Regions from separate parts of the Homo sapiens genome. Here region 1 is linked to region 2. The links are contacts of gene promoters, found by promoter capture Hi-C in blood cells and fetal thymus (Javierre and others, 2016). All regions are on one chromosome and are shown on one strand. Each heading gives the region's core, a stretch centred on a gene start or on the middle of the fragment in contact. The rest is flanking DNA. Distances are from core to core; before and after follow the strand shown. Region 1 overlaps LASP1 (LIM and SH3 protein 1). Region 2 holds the start of CACNB1 (calcium voltage-gated channel auxiliary subunit beta 1).

Region 1 (5,342 bases), core at 1,666-4,165, 280 kb after region 2:
GCAGCTTCCTGCCCCCCCACCAACCACAGCCAACCAATCACAAAGCCTGGGGGTGGATAGCCAAGGAGATGCCAGATTTAGACCCACAGAACCGCAGAATCAAAGGGGCTCAATTTCTCCCCAGGAACCCAATCCCACCCCTTTGTATCTAAATGGAGCCTGCATGCTCTGGATGTAGGAGGAGATAGGATCCTACCCAGCTCCCCCAAGAGTGAATCCTCCTGACTGCCTTCTTCGCGTTTCCTCTCACACACCTCGGGCAGATTATCTCAGAAAAATCATGGTTGGGTATTGGGTGGGCCATTGGCAACTTCTAAAGGTCACATTATGGGGAGACACAGACAAAAGTTTCGTGTGGATCTCAGTGGGCTTCCCTGAGGGATGAAGCTAACATTTATACATTTCCTACACTGGGCCAGATATCGTACATGTGGTGCAATTTCAACCTCCCTATGAGTCTTTCATAGATGGGGCTCAGAGATGGTCAGAAACTTACCCTAATGGTTCATAGCTTAGATGTGTCAGAGACCAGCCGGGCGCAGTGGCTCATGCCTATAATCCCAGCACTTTGGGAGGCCGAGGCAGGTGGATCACAAGGTCAGGAGTTCAAGACCAGCCTGGCCAAGATGGTGAAACCCTGTCTCTACTAAAAATACAAAAGTTAGCCAGGCTTGGTGGTGCATGCCTGTAATCCCAGCTACTTGGGAGGCTGAGGCAGAGAATTGCTTGAACCCGGGAGGCAGAGCTGAGATCGCGCCACTGCACCCCAGCCTGGGCTACAGAGCAAGATTCTGTCTCAAAAAAAAAATAAAAATAAAAATTAGCCGGGCGTGGTGGCAGGTGCCTGTTATCCCAGCTATTCAAGAGGCTGAGGCTAAAGAATTGCTTGAACCCGGCAGGCAGAGGTCGCAGTGAGCTGAGACCGTGCCATTGCACTCCAGCCTGGGTGACAGAGCGAGACTCCGTCTCAAAAATAAATAAATTAATAAATAAAATAAAAAGTAAAAGGCTGGGTGTGGTGGCTCATGCCTGTAATCCCAACACTTTGGGAGGCTGAGGTAGGTGAATCACCTGAGGTCAGGAGTTCAAGACCAGCCTGACCAACATGGAGAAACTCCAGCTCTACTAAAAATACAAAATTAGCTGGGCATGGTGGCACATGCCTGTAATCCCAGCTACTCAGGAGGCTGAGGCAGGAGAATCGCTTGAACCTGGGAGGTGGAGGTTGCAGTGAGCTGAGATTGTGCCATTGCACTCCAGCCTGGGCAACAAGAGTGAAACTCCGTCTCAAAATAATTAATTAATTAATTAAAAATGTCAGAGACCAGGATTCAAAACTAGGCATGCTGACACCAAAGTCCATATTCTTCCTCTTGCGCCACACTGCTCCCCCTGTTGGTCCGGAAGGCCCCTACACCCCACGTGCACTGCTCAGCTTGCAGTGGACTGCTTTCACATCGATCCACCTACAGGACGAGCACCAGAGACCCCTCCTCCACCCACTCCTTCGTCTCTTTGCAGTCATTACCCACTGTTTTGTTTTCCTTCTTTCTTTTTTTATAGAGACGGGGTCTTGCCATTTTGCCCAGGCTGGTCTCAAACTCCTGGACTCAAGCGATCCTCCCACCTCAGCCTCCCAAAGTGCTGGGATTGCAGGTGTGAACCACCGCACCCGGCCTAGTTTTGTTTTCTTTGGTATCCTCTTCCAAAAGCTCAGCATAGTGTTGTACACAGAGAGGACACTGAAGAATTCCCCAGGGGTATCCCTGAAATTTAAAAAATTCAAGTGGTTTCTTCTGAGGGGGAAAAGAGAATTATTTTATTCTTTTTATTTATTTATTTATTTATTTATTTATTTATTTATTTATTTATTCTTAGACGGAGTCTTGCTCTGTCACCCAGGCTGGAGTGCAGTGGCACGATCTCAGCTCAGTGCAAGCTCTGCCTCCCGGGTTCACGCCATTCTCCTGCCTCAGCCTCCCGAGTAGCTGGGACTACAGGCACCCGCCACCGCGCCCAGCTTATTTTTTGTATTTTTAGTATAGACGGGGTTTCACTGTGTTAGCCAGGATTTTTGTGCCTTTTTATAAGCCTCAATTATTTTCTATTAAATTAAATCATTCCCTAGGACGTCTCTGAGGCCTAGTCTCCTTGGCCCCCACCCCAAATAATATTTTTTTTAAAGGCCTGGGGTTAAGATATATTGGTAACCCCCTCATAATGCAAGACCTCAGGAACTTAGGCCACTGCCAGAAGGAAATCCAGAAACTCCTCCCATTGGCCCATTTCCAGGAGGCAGAGCTTTCTGTGAGCAGGGAGTGGAGACTTGGCAGCAATGTCCCCCAAAGCACTGTTCCATCAAATAGATCTGAAGGTGAATGAAGCCTCCCGGGGAGTGGGGCAGGCCGACATGAGGCAAGCTTTGCCAACTAATTCCCTTCTATTGGGAAAGTATTGGGCTGCCTGCACCCCTGGAGGGGAGCAGGTGTCAGTGCTGTCTCTAATTATACCACCCAGGGCAGCCTTGGATGCTCCCCACATTGCCCCAGCTCAGCTGACTCTGGCCATGTCATTCTCCAGATTACAAATGCTCAGCTCAGGAGAGCCCTCCTCCTCTCCACCCTGCTGTGATTCTGAGGCTGGAGAATTCCTTAGTTCTGAGCCCCAAGAGAGAAATGCCCCTCAAGCAGCTGGACCTGAGGCTGATTGGCAGCACTGAGCAGGGCCAGATTCCCCTCTCTACCACTGTCCTCTTCCCAAGCCCAATGAGCAAGAGGGGAGGCCGCCTGGCCTTCTGGCCAGTCACAGACCCTGGGCACCTGGAGCAAAACATGGAGCCCAGGAGACACACATCTAAGAGCTGCCACAGACACAGGCACGCGGCCTGCCATGGCCGGGTGGCACAGCACCAGACTGTGAGCATCACATGGGGGTCTCAGGCCCCACTCTGCCACTAGCTGTGACTGCCACCAATCTGCTTTGCCTTTCTGGGTTTCAGTGAGCCCCTCTATAAGTAGTTACTTCTCTCACAGGGTTGTGAGGAAGAAGGAAGAAAGGGGATGTGTATTAAAGATTACATTCAGAAGGCACTGTGAATAGTGCTTTGGGTTGCCAGGCCACCTTACAGACAGCTTTATCCAGGTCCCGTCCCACTGTGGAATGCCCTGTCATCTCGTTCCTCAAATGCGTGGAGCTCCTGCTCTCTGCCTGGCAGCGGCAGAGTGCTAGAACTGCTCCCCAGCCAAGCTCATTCATTAATTCAACAGCTCCGCACCGCTCCTGGGCAGGTACCCGGGATTTAGAGATGAATTAGACTCATCACCTGCCCCAAGGGCTCTGGCTAGTGGGGAGACAGATATGTCACTGAGGAAGTGACACAGTAATACGAGACGGAGCTCAGGGAAGCTTCCGGGAGCATCACCAAGTTGGGCAGAGAGGAATGAGCGGGTGGAAAGCCAGAAGTAGGTTGGTGGGGAGTTCTCAGCAAGGAGGAAGTAGGGGCCAAGGGCCTGACAGACAGCAGCAAACTCCCCCTTGGCATCCAGACAAGTCATTCTCTCCCCGAGGGGCAGCAGAGGTCCCAGGAGGGCCACAGGCCAGTGCCCCCAAGCAGACAGGACACACACACACACACACACACAGTGGCACCTTACAGCTAGACACACACACACACAGCAGCACCTTACAGCTAGAGACACACACCCACACACAGACACACACAACAGCAGCTCAGAGCCAGAGAGGAAACCAAGTCCGCAGGTAAAAATTATACTTTTATTTGAGTCACCAGGAGAAAGATTCACTTGTGGTTCAAGTCAAATGTTCAGAATCATAACAGGCCAGAAAGGTTTGATCCCGAGCACAAGCCCACGAGGGAGGGGACCAAAACAGACCAAAATGAGACAACAACCCCATATAAAAAGATGAACTGGCGGCTTCACACACTCACACACATACACATACACACGGATGAAATGTTTGGACAGAGGCAAATTTCACGTGGTCATTTCTGTTTCTTTTTAAATACAGGTTTGTAGGGTGGTATTTTGTTTTTTCCAGCTATAAAAAAAGGCCCAAAAGTGCATGTGTGAGGGGGGAAAGGCAGAAATTAAGCAATAAAGTCATTTTCCCTGGAGGGACATGAGAGGGAGAAAACAGGAGGCAGTGCTGGGAGAACGCACTTTCCTCACCACTGGGCTTCTTGTTATTCTTAGTATTGGTCCACAAAAGTTATATTCACATTCTAGCTTTGATGCCTCTTTCCTGGGATTAAATGAGCTGAAAGACCTCTGTGAACTGTAGAGAAGACCAGGGGCTCAGCCCAGCCCAGCCCAGCCCCTCAGGGCTCTGTGCTCTTCTAGGGATGGATGGTTTTGGTAAAGAACAGACGCCCAGCAGCCCCCGGTCACTCAGCACCAGTGTGACAGTCCCTCCTCTCTCTGGGGGTGTGTAAGAAAACGGCCCCTATTTTTAGGACAGGAAGAGTAGAGGGAGGGCCTGCAGCAAGATTCCATGACTGGCTTGCCTTATCTGGGAAGGAGAATTAAGCTGAGTGAAAACAGGCTGCTTCTTGCTGCTCCTCCCTTCCACTCACCACTCTCCCAAACTCAGGTCCTCTAAGGGGATGTGTCCCTGACCTTTGGTCCCCAAATCCACATTGTGCTTTGAGATCAAGAGGAAACAGAATGCACCAGCGCCACCCAAGACTCCCAAGAGATTCTCTGCCTCCCCGAGCCCCCAAATCGCCCAATATAAGATATTCCACTTGCCTCCACCTAGGCTGGGGCCAGAAAGGAAAAGGGATGGGTCAGGCAGGGCCTCCCCACCCACAGTCTTTTCCTCAACCTCTCATTCGGGGCAAACATCCCCAAATCAATTAACAAGCAGTTGACAAAAACACCCATGATGACTGATTGTTGAACAGGCCAATACCTTCAGGTCCTGCCCCTCACCTGTGGGTACAAGTGTGCCAAGGGACAAGAGGCCAATGGCAGGGCCTGGTTGGGCTCAGGATGAAAATGGGATGGGGACTCCCAGAGGGTGGCAAGAAAACCAGAGATGAATCAAGTGAGGCCAGGGTTGTCACAGCCACCCATGAGCAGAGAGCAGGAACTGGATATAGCACCGTCTTTCCCTCCCCATCCCCGAGGCTGTGCTTCCAGTTTTGCAGCCCTGGGACCCTCTTTCTTGCTTCAAGGGAGCTTTATGTAAGTGAGGGGGAGGTCTAGGGGAAGAGCCCCCGAGGGAGACACCCACAGGGTGACACTTCTGCCACCCTATTCTGTAGCCCCAGACAGAGATGGGGAAACATATGCCTGGAGTGACAGAGCCTTCCTCCACCG
Region 2 (5,185 bases), core at 450-2,949:
AGAGTGAGACTCCGTCTCAAAAAAAAAAAAAAAGCAGTCCTTTTCTTCTGATCTGGAACACCCAATGTAAAAATCCAAGAAGAACATTCTGGGGTTTAAGAAGTCTACATCTGAATTGAGGCTCCAACTCATGATTGGTTCCTGCTGATCACCCTATCCGTTTCATCTCAACTTTCCTGGCTGAGAAAGTAGAAGAGAGAGAAAGGGAAGCAACATTTATGCTACTTCCTCACAACAACACGATTAGCGTTGCCCTCATTTTACAGCTAAGGTAACAGATTCAGAACACAGATATTTCTGATTGCAAAGCCCATACTTTTGCGGTTATGCCAGCCTTTCTTGTCTCCAAGGGGCAGGTGGAAACCCTGCTCAGGGTTGGAACTCTCCTGGAACGTTTCTAATGGGCTTCATCTTCACTCACTGCTCCGCCTTCCCCAAGGTGTTGTGATCAGAGGAATGACAGACTGACCATTCACTTGCTATTAGAGTTGGGTGAGGAGGAGGAGTCCCATAGTCTCCTGTCCTGCGGAACACAGCAAGGTGGTGGCCTTATTGTAAGGTCACTTGACCTGGAGAGGGTCTTCTCCATCTCTCCTTTCTGTGGAGCAGGAGAAGGGGTGGAGTAGGAAGGGAATGGGTCCTCCTGTCATGAGTGACCCCTTCATTGAAACTTACAGCTTCTCCAAACACCCCAGCAATTCATTTAATTCTCCCTCATCCTCCCAATAATACCAGGTGACACAGACTCCACAGTACCAGCAACCCCATTTTATAGGAGAGGAGGAAACTGATGCTCAGAGAGGTGATTTGTCCGGGGCTATACAACCAGAAACAGCCTGAGCCAAATTGGCGCCAGAGTCTATTGCCCAGAATCTCCTATTCCTCTTCTCTCCACCAGTCATGGTGGGTGGCATCCAGATCTTGGATGTTTCTCCCTAAATCAGGGGTAAAGGTGGCGCAATTCTAGGTCAAAGGTCATGAGATCTGATTTTACCAGCTTCTCCTCTCTCAGCTCCATATTTCTTCCTCTTTTCTCATCCAAGAGCAGGGACCTCACCCAGCCCCATTCCTGGCCTTTTGGAAGAACAGGGGTTGGGGGGGCGGTGTATCCTAGTGACTGATTAGGGCAGAACTCCTGGACCCCTGGGATTTATTTTGCTGTCTCTATTGGACACCCTCCCCATCTCAGCCTCAGCCTCCCACCGGCAGCCCCAGAGCCATGTTGGAGGGAGAGGCTTTTCTGTTTGGTTTGAGGCAGCCTGGGCCCCACACTGGGGAGAAAGGAGTTAAAGCCAGGTCCCAGGATCACCGGGACCGGGAAGTTCCGGTGGTCCAAACAGGAGTGGGTTGGGGGGACCCGCAGGAAGAGAGGTTTGGGACAAAAGGGGGGTGGTGCCAGCCATGCCAATCCCCATCAGCGCTCGGCATCCACTGGTAGACCGCCCCCCCACCCCTCCCCCAAGTTCCACGCCTAGTTTCTGCCTTCCCGCCCCAGCGGGCCGCCTGCACCCCACGGCCAGTCAGAGGCCCACCTGCGGCCACCTAGAGCCGAGAGGGGCTTGCCTCCCTGCTGCCGCACGCCCATTGTGTGCGCCGAGCCGGCGGAGGGGCTGCGAGGGGCGGGGCCGGGCGGGCGGAGGGAGGGAGCGAGGGAGGGGCGCGGGGAGATGCTGAGCCTACGGGGGAGGCGGCGGCGGCAGTGGAGAGAGCGGGAGGAGCGAGGGAAGGCAGGAAGGAGGCAGCCGAAGGCCGAGCTGGGTGGCTGGACCGGGTGCTGGCTGCGCCGCGCTGCTTTCGGCTCCCACGGCCTCTCCCATGCGCTGAGGGAGCCCGGCTGGGCCGGGCCGGCGGCGGGAGGGGAGGCTCCTCTCCATGGTCCAGAAGACCAGCATGTCCCGGGGCCCTTACCCACCCTCCCAGGAGATCCCCATGGAGGTCTTCGACCCCAGCCCGCAGGTGAGGCGTGGTGGCCCGGCCCAACGGGAGGGGGTCGCTCCCGCGGACCGTGTTAAGGTCGGCTCGAGAGGCGCGGGAGAGGAAGGGGTTATATGCCGGGCGCGGAGGAGAGAGGGATGCCTGCGCGCCCCCCATCCTTGCAGGTTGTGATTGATGGGCGCTGGGCCTGGGGCTGGGTGGCGATGCTGCGGAGCGGGGAGGGGGCGGGTGGGCTGCCTGTCACCCTCGCCTCCTTATCTCCCCCGCGTCAAGGTTCCTGCCGCTTGGGCACCAGCTTCAGTGGGCTGAGCGTGGGGGTGCTGGTGGAGGGGGATCTGGGCCTTGAGAAGGGGAGGTTGAAAGAGGCTAGAAAGCGAGCCAGGCAAGGGGGGCGACGCAGAGCACGCTCGGGGGCGCCAGGCGGGTGTGGGTGGGGCGGGGGTGGCACGAGGAGGTGGCCGAGGCGATGGTCAGAGGGCGGTGCCAAATGCCAACAGGCCTTCAAAGCCGCAGACACTGGTTCTCGAGGGTGGGGAAAGAGCCAACCCCGGTCGAGGTCCCCTCCCAGCCACCTGGGCTCCATCTCTATGTCGGACCTGCTCCCCTCCCCCCACACCCACGTTGACTTACCCCACCCCCACCCCCGCCCCAAAAACGCCTCCAAAGTTTGGAAAGTTGGATGGATGCCAACTCATAGGAGGGGGGGAAGCTGTTTTACCTGGGGGAGGGGTCTACTTCTCCATCCCCACCCGCACACTTTTCCTACACCCCTGGTTACTCCCAGGAAGTGGCATTCTTGGGCGCGGTGGGTTCTCATGGGGTGACCAGCAGGCTCTGGGATGGTCGCGCCAGGGGATTTCTTTGGGAGTGTCCTTCTCCAAGGATAGCATTAACTCTTCTGTTACTGTGGCCACCAGCTGTAACCACCATGATAATGTGACTGATGGGTATGTAGAGGGGTCAAGTCAGACCTAAAAATACCTTCCTCCACCCCAGGCCCCTTTGAGCCTGGGAGGCAGCTGACTGGGGCCTTCCTTTCAGCTGTCCCCTGTCCCTCTGAGTGCCACTCCCTTTGCCCAGCCTGGCAGTGGTGGGGGAGGGTGGTGTCTGGGATTCACTGGGTGATCCTCCTAGGTTTGTAGGGAGCATCACAACTTGAGTTGGGGTATATGTCTGGTTTGAGAGAAGGGCGGGGAGGGGAGGATCTTGGAAAGGTCCCCAGGGGCCCTCCTCTCCCATTTTCCATCCTCTTTCTTGTACCCTGATCCCAGCAGCCAAAGCCCCCAGTCTGGTCATGGCCCCTCCAGGTTCTTTGGCCAAAGAAAGTCTAGGATGGAGACCAAGGGCGGGGACTTGGAAGTCTGAGCCCTCACTCACTCTCCCCATTCTGAACTGGGCTGAGGCCAAGTGTGTGTGGGTACAAGCTGGGGAGGGCCAGAAGCAGCTCTTCTTACAAGAGGACTGGAAATACCTGACGCCCTTAACCTGAACGTGTGGCTTCCTGAATGGTCAGGCGGTATTTCCTCCACCCGGTCTCTGAGACTGAGCCAGCTTACCCCCTAGAGATCTGTGGGGCTGTGTCCTAGGCTCATGTGGTGCGGGGCCGAGGGACATTTAGATTGACGTAGCCTGATGGGTACCATGGGCATGGGGCATGGGCAGTGGCAGCTGGGGGCCACAGGGTAGAAGCTTGATCCCTCTTGCCCCCTTGGGGAGGATTGTAGCTACTGTGATTGTGAGAGAGGGAGCTGAGAAAAAGTCCTGTCTGGGCAAGGGATGAGAGTGGGGAGCAAAATTTGCCCCCATGGTGCCAGGGATCAGGCTGGATGTTTACTCTCCAAATACAGTTCCATGCCCCTACTCCCTCCCCAGAAATCTGGCTCTGAGTCTCCAAGAGAGCTGTCATCCCCTCCCTACTCTGTGAATAGCGAAGGGAAGAGTTGGGCACAGGGGAGAAGCCAGGCTGGGCCCTGGGTTGGCAGTTCCTCCTCTCTGGGGGCCACCAACACAAACAGCCCTGCTCTGCTCCTGCGGAGGGGGAGTGGGGGTGACTTTCCCGCTCTCCCCACCCAACACCCAGCACTGCCGGCTGCCTCTCCCTTCCTCGGAGGCCTCTGCAGCCTGCCCAGCATCTTAATTAGCTCTGCTGCCTAATGAGCCTCCAGCTTCTCCGCGCCTCCCCCCTTCCCAGCCTCTCTGGCTTGGTTTGGTGGTTTCCGTGTGGGTCTTCTGGGGCTCTCTTGCACTGGTCCCCACTCCTGGCTGTGCTCTGGGCCCTCTCCGTGAGGATGGGAGACCCTCCCTCCCCTTGGGTCGTACCACCTCAGGAGGAATGTGCAGGGGGGTGGAGGTGGGGCTGGGAGTGCTGTTCCCAAGCTTGGCTGTAGCTCTGGGGCTGGCAAGATGAGGGTTGGGAAAGGGCCCTTCTGATTCTACTCTTGTTCCTTTCCTGGCCTCTTCAGGGCAAATACAGCAAGAGGAAAGGGCGATTCAAACGGTCAGATGGGAGCACGTCCTCGGATACCACATCCAACAGCTTTGTCCGCCAGGTAATGGGGAGGCTGGGCGGAGAGGAGGGAGGTGGCTGGTTGGTGGAGACCAGCATTGGTGAGCCAGGTCTGCGGTATTGTCCAGGCACCCTTCCCTGTGCCATTTGTCACCTGCCTGGAGCCACCCCATCACCCTGACACCCCATGACCTCTTCTGGATGTGCTGTCAGCGGCACCCACTCGCTCAGCCCCCGCCCCTGCCCGGCCCCTCCCCCAGCACCAGGCACCCTCCCCTGCTGCCTGCTGGCCTGCGTCATCTCATTCAGGGACAGCCTGGCCTGCCTCCCTCCAGCTTGCTTCGGGCTGTCACCCACTCCCCCTGCCGGCTGTCTGCTTCCATGTCCTCCCCCAGAATCTGTGACAGGGTTGGGTGGAGGCAGGTCCTAGGAAAAGCAGAGCAAGGATGTTTGGGTCCCTGTAGTCCTGGTGAGGTCCTGGCCAGGGAAACACGCTCCTCACCTCGAGACATGACTGTCTAAGAAGCACAGAGAAAGGGTGATGGTGACGGGGGTGGGGGTGGTTGAGGCATGAGGCTGTTGATTTTATAATAGAGAAGATGATAGCCCAGCACCCCTGCCTGAAAGGGTGTAACTGAGAATAGCTTTCTGGGGTCTTCTGTGCTCAGTCAGTAAGCGGCTGCTCTCATCTGTCAACCCTGGGCCATCTTAGGCTCAGGGTGAGGGACTGAGAGAGGCATGTGG

Evidence for each region. The method cuts DNA at HindIII sites, captures the fragments that hold promoters and counts their contacts. A CHiCAGO score of 5 or more calls a contact.
Region 1: a fragment that was not itself captured here is called in contact with the fragment with the promoter of CACNB1 in region 2 in 1 of 17 cell types (monocytes); the score reaches 6.2 in monocytes.

Annotation. Positions count from the first base shown.
Region 1 is chr17:38,920,181-38,925,522 of GRCh38, reverse strand. LASP1 (LIM and SH3 protein 1) reads right to left here. Exons shown (of 7, transcript NM_006148.4): 7 at 3,753-5,342. Among named protein-coding and RNA genes, the nearest start is that of LASP1NB, 2.8 kb to the left of the region's middle. RefSeq lists an enhancer at 2,914-3,524. The HindIII fragment of the contact is 985 bases long and covers 2,423-3,407 here.
Region 2 is chr17:39,194,183-39,199,367 of GRCh38, reverse strand. It overlaps CACNB1 (calcium voltage-gated channel auxiliary subunit beta 1), which reads left to right and starts at 1,699. Exons shown (of 14, transcript NM_000723.5): 1 at 1,699-1,956; 2 at 4,398-4,484. The coding sequence starts at 1,873. RefSeq lists silencers at 1,402-1,531, 1,542-1,941, 2,372-2,501. The HindIII fragment of the contact is 8,246 bases long and covers 1-3,626 here.